Linked DNA regions of Homo sapiens: region 2 is linked to region 1. The links are contacts of gene promoters, found by promoter capture Hi-C in blood cells and fetal thymus (Javierre and others, 2016). All regions are on one chromosome and are shown on one strand. The core of a region is centred on a gene start or on the middle of the fragment in contact, and the rest is flanking DNA. Distances in the headings are between cores, read along the strand shown.

Region 1 (2,826 bases), core at 182-2,681:
GGCTGGAGACTAGCAGGTCCAGGTACCGTGGGCGCAGGAGAGTAGCCAAAGCCTCTGGAAGAGAAGGAGGTAGTGTTGAGGTTGGAGCCTGGCAAAGCAGGAGCTCCCTCATCCCCAGGAGACTAAATATGACCCAGTAGGCTGGGGCCAAGCCCATATCAAGAGTTCTATGGATGGTATATGGAAATGGGGAAATTAAGGCATAAAGCAGTTGGCTCACCCTTTGTGCATACACAGGCAAAACCCCTTACCCAGGGCATGGGCACAGGCCGGCTCACTCAGCAGCACCACAGGCGCTTTGGGGTCTGGGTTCTGGGCCTCAAAGGCCTTGACACAGAGCTCCAAGGCCACAGAACGTTGACGAAGCACGAAGGCAACGGGCAGTGGGCGGGCTGGAGGGCTTAAGCAGGCAGGGCCAAAATGTATGAGAGCCTGAGCTCCAGCTTGCTCAGCACCCAGCACATCCACGCAGCAGCTGCAGGGAAGATAGCATCAGAGAAATGGGTTCTCTTCTGGAGGCGAGTTGCTGTCATCACTGGGAAATGTGGTCAGTGAATAAAATGGTTTCATTAAAGGAAGACATTGTCAATGAAAGGAGCTAGCATCAGAAGGGGAGTCATTACCATTATCATCAAGGAGAAACACCACCATTGAAGGCAATCACTGTCATAGACGTAAAACCCCATGAGCCCCGGATCCCCAGGCCTGGCCCACCTAAGGCCAAGTTCACACCTGCCGTAGGCTGTGTCACCCAGAATGAACATCTTTGACCCTGTCGTCTCCTCCAGTCGTGCAGCCACAGCCACAGCATCTCCCAATAGCTGGTCAGGGAACTGCAAGGCAACCTATAAGCATAAACCATGGAGTCAGGGACAGCCTCTCTCCCACTGAGGGCTTCTTTAAAGCAATCTTCCAGGAGCTCCCACTCAACCTTCAAAGCCCCTGGTCCCAGAGGGGCACTCTGCCCCACGTAGTAGGTGGAAGGGAGGGATGGTCAACGCGCTGCGGACAGACTGATTCCCCCACCCTCTCGCCCTCACAAAATCCCCCAAGATCCGGATCCTCTGGGCGACCCATCCCGACAGAGGCGAGCCACCCTTCCCTAAGTCTGTCCTCACTCGTTCACACCCCAGGTCGCGGACAAATCCAGCGACTCGCTCCAGCTCGTACACTCCGTCCAGGTCCGGAAGAGGAGTAAGCAGTCCTGGCACCCCGGTCTCTCGCTGCAGCGCCGCCTCGGCAGGGCTGCTAAACATCGACTCCATGAGGCACAGCTTGGGTGGTGGGATGCAGCGGGGACCTCCCTGGGACAGCTTCGGGGCCTGAGTCCTCTAGAGCAGCCCTCAGGGGGTCAAAATCGCCTTGTGGGGGTAGGGGGAATCACAGTCGGCCTTCAGCCGGTGAGTATCCCCTTCAGCCATCCTAACTACTGTTTCTCCGCTACACGTGGGACTACCGGGGAGGTTACTTCCGGGTTTTAGAGGCGTGGCTGATAGCGATTTTGCCAATCCTAAGTCAGCACAGCTCCCGCCCTCCAATCCCCGCCACCGCCCCGCACAGAGAACCAATGTTCAGCCTGAGTCCCAGGCCAGCCGGAAGTACATCGAGGAAGGCGCGGAGCCTTGTGGGCATTGTAGTTCCCCTGGCCTCCTCTCGGGCGCTGGGAGTCCGGTTCAGCCGACCCGCGGCCATCAGGAACACCGACTTCACTGTTAAGCATTTCACGTGCACTCTATCCTCTGGGCAGTATCACTGCATAATTCTTTCATTCATTCATTTTTTTTTTTTTTTGACAAGGTCTCGCTATGTTGCTTGGACTGGAGTGCAGTGGCGCGATCTCCACAACCTTCACCTCCTGGACTGAAGCCATCCTCCCACCTCTGCCTCTTGAGTAGTTGGGGCTACAGGCGCACCACCACATCCAGCTAATTTTTGTATTTTTTGTAGAGACAGGTTTTTGCCATGTTGCTCAGACTGGTCACAAACTCCTGAACTCAAGCAATCCACTCATCTCGGCCTCCCAAAATGCTGAGAGTACAGACGTGAGCCACCGTGCCCGGCTACACTGCATAATTTTAAACTTGGTGCCGACCGGCTCGGGTTTGAATATTGTGCTTGGTCACTTGCTACTGAGTATCTTAGGAATGTCCCTATGCCCATTTCCTTATCTGAAGAATGGGGAGTTGTGACAATAGTACCTCTTAATAAGATTGTTGTGAGGGTCTAATTAATTTATATACAAAACTTTACAAAGTAGTTCTTTGGATATCGCATGCAGTGAAAGCATTTGCTATTTAATCAGCCAAATACTGAGCACTTACTGTACATTAGGCACTTCATTTTTAGTGTTTACAGTCTTTGGAGTAAGAATTATCCCGAGTGGTACCAAGGACATGACTGGCACATCCTCAAGTCACAGGAGATGCTCTGCACAGCTCCAGCCATCCTCAAACACTGCTGCTTCCCAGCAATACCCCCAGTGCATACCACATAGACCTCTACCCTCCAGCCCCTCACATCCCCTCTACTCCCCATGTTTACTTATATGCAAACACCCCCACATGCAACATCACTTGAAATGCCCTCCTTACATACCTCTGTCAGATACGGAAACTGAGGTTCAAAGAGACTACTTGTGTAATAAGACACTAATTCTGTGGCACAACCAGCATCAAACCCGGATCTATTGAACAGGGAAGGAGTGGGATGAATGTGGGAGTAACGAGTTCCCCATCACCCACAAGGAGATTGAAAGCTCAAGGGTAAAAGTGGGGAGAACTCATTCTGCTCTTCAGATCTTACTGAGGAGAAGCCTGGGGTACCTGA
Region 2 (2,826 bases), core at 201-2,700, 440 kb after region 1:
CACTTGAGCCCAGGAGGTGGAGGCTGCAGTGAGCCACGACTGCACCACTACACTCCAGCCTGGGCAACAGAGTGAGATTCTGTTTCAAACCAAAGAGAAAAAGAAAGAAATCACACTGCTTGGCACCCAGGAAGGCCTCAGAAGGGGTGAAGTCCACAGTCATGTCCAATATCAAGAAAGAAAGCCCTTGGGGCCAACGCAGGGCTGGCCCCAGTAGGGTTCCCCATCATCTGCCAGGCCTGAAACCTGGCCCGGCAGTGGGTCAGGAGCAAGTCGATGATACCTAGGGGAATGCAGGCACAGCTGCCCTCTGGAGCAACCCCCAGAATGCCCCTGTGGCTGCACCAGGAACAGTCCCCAGAAACAGCAGCTAAAATACTGCTAAGGAGCTAAAACCAGAGTTCTCAGACCTAGAAGTCACGGTCACACAGAGACATGGTGCATCTGGACCACAGAGGCAGATGGTGGCAGAAAGAGCCTCAGTAGAAGCCCAGGGCCCAGGGAGGGTGGGAGGAAATGGAGAACTCAATACCCCAAGGCTGCCCCTTCTCAAAATTCCCTTCCACCTACCCCAAACATGGAGTCTCTTCTGCAGGCCTCACCTCTAGTCTTCTCAAGCCCACCCACCTGAAGGTCAAACACCTGAGCAACACAAACAATCCCATCGATAACAATAGGGGCAGGCACCCCCTTTGTTGAGCTCCTTGACCTGCTAATCTCAGCTCAGAATTGCAGCAACCTTAGGCAGACAGGGACCCTAACCTTAGCAGTCTATCTTCTCATTAAAGGCAACCTCATGTGACCCCTGATGGGAGGGTGGGTTTACACCATCCCAGTTGAGGATGATTACAGTAACTGCAAACACAGACAACAGTACTCACTAGATGCCAAGCCCTGTGCTACACACACTTTATGCATACTATCTTTAATCCTCATAACAACCCTTATAAGGCACGGGTTTTTATTATAATCATTTGACAAATGAGGAAGCGGATTCAGAGAGGTTAAGCCACTTGCTTAAAGTCACGCTGCTAGTAAACAGAGTCCAATCCTAGCAGTATAAAACTCGAGCTCTTCACCACTGTCGGAGGTTACTTTCTCTCGAGGTGCACAGCTCTATGGTCTCTCATACAGCTCTCGCTTCTCTTGGTCCGACCGACATTTCTCTCCCATACCCTCACACCAAAGCCCCTCCTTGATGTGCCTCCCCCACTGAGCCTCCAATGTCCCAAGTACCTCAAGGGCCACATGTCCAACTAAGAGCTTATTCTCTGCCCCTCCTCACCAAGTCCCTAACACAGTGAAGCTTCAGGGCCTTCAGTGAAGGCCCGCTCAACCACTCCGAGGAACCTGGACTCCTTCCTCTTCCTCTCCTTCACTCCCACATCCAATAAATCATTCTGTCCTGACAAGTGTACCTTCAAGATGGCACCATGCTACCACCTATCAAAGCCAGCATCTTCTCTCACCTTACTTACCTGCACCCTCTTGCCCCACTGGGCATCCTGTCTCCATCCTTTTCCCATAGCCACAGAGCATTTTCTGGAAACATAAACCTGACCACAGCACACTCCACCCTCCCTATCCAAGCTTTAAACCTTTGGTGTTTTCTCTCTGGGTTCTCAGAGTAAAATTACAGGTACTTAACAGGGCATTCAATGCCCTCTGTGATCTGCCACATCTCTGAATACTTCACAAGTGACAACACCTCCCAGTCTTTATTCATACTGGTTTTTATCTATCTCAAGTCCTTTCTCTCTTCTTCAAACTCCTACTCATCCCTCCAAACCTAGTTCACATCACTTCTTCTTGGTCTCCTCTGGGACTCACCTCACCCTGACCTCCGAACTCTCCCCCGTCTCTTGATGAACTCTTGCAATGTTCTAACCCAACTCAGAACCGCAGCTGCTTTAGTTGAGCAGATGCCTGAACCTTAGGGGTGGGCTGCCTCTTCTACATAGCTGTTAGTCCCAAAGGAAGAAAGGCAGCCGGGGCCGAAAGCGCCTACCCCGGGGTCTGGCACACAGTCAGCAATCAATGACAGGTAACTGAATTGCTTTTGCAATCCCATGGTGCAACCTGCTCCCCCAAGGACCACGAGCTTCTCGAGGGTAGGGCCCTGACTGCAAGCTGGAACCAAGCACACAGCAGTGTCAGTCACAAGGGAAGTGACTGCCACTGCTGACGATGCACTGCCACACAGTTCCCTTGGATTCTTACAACAGCCCTGGGACCCAGTCCGGGTTGGATTAGCTACCCCATTTTACAGGGAGTGAAATTGAGACTCAGGGAGAAAGGGGCCTCTTTGAGGCCTGAAGCTGGAAAGTGGAGGAGCCGTGGTGTGTATCACAACCCCTCTACTGCAGGAGGTCTGGGTCCCCTCCTCCCCGCCCCCAGGGAGGACCCTCAAAGCTAGACTCCCATAGTTCAGGCTGATGGAAAAAAGGGTGGACTGTGCCCAAACTGCCAGGGCTAGTATTTTGCTGCGTATCCATACACTTCCCAGTAAAAGATGTGTAGCTAGTTTCCGTTTGCTGCAGTCTAACTCTGCCCCGCCAAATTCCTTCACCAACACCCAACCACCCCCTCCTCTCTTGGCAGCCTTGTACACCAAGCCAACCCGCCCAGGGCACACAAAGCTGGATAAAGGGGAGGTATCAGTAGTTGCAAGAAGAAGGAAGAAAGGGAGGAAGGAAGGAAGGAATTATGTTAAAACAATTTTCTTGTTAAAGGAAAGAAAGAGGGAAGAGGAAGAGCAGCTGGAAAAGGAAACTATAAAGGAAACTAAAAAAAACACTATAAAGACATTTCAAATAAGAGACTGAG

The links. Contacts are between HindIII fragments. The CHiCAGO score rates a contact against its expected background, and 5 or more counts as called.
Region 2: a fragment that was not itself captured here is called in contact with the fragment with the promoter of DPH2 in region 1 in 1 of 17 cell types (total CD8 T cells); the score reaches 5.3 in total CD8 T cells.

Annotation. Positions count from the first base shown.
Region 1 is chr1:43,968,615-43,971,440 of GRCh38, reverse strand. DPH2 (diphthamide biosynthesis 2) reads right to left here and starts at 1,431. Exons shown (of 6, transcript NM_001384.5): 1 at 1,119-1,431; 2 at 733-845; 3 at 252-475; 4 at 1-54. The coding sequence starts at 1,265. RefSeq lists enhancers at 1-88, 89-635, 1,121-1,400. The HindIII fragment of the contact is 12,483 bases long and covers 1-2,826 here.
Region 2 is chr1:43,533,053-43,535,878 of GRCh38, reverse strand. All of the region lies in intron 1 of PTPRF (protein tyrosine phosphatase receptor type F), which reads right to left. Among named protein-coding and RNA genes, the nearest start is that of PTPRF, 3.6 kb to the right of the region's middle. RefSeq lists enhancers at 139-1,001, 1,948-2,447, 2,448-2,826. The HindIII fragment of the contact is 284 bases long and covers 1,309-1,592 here.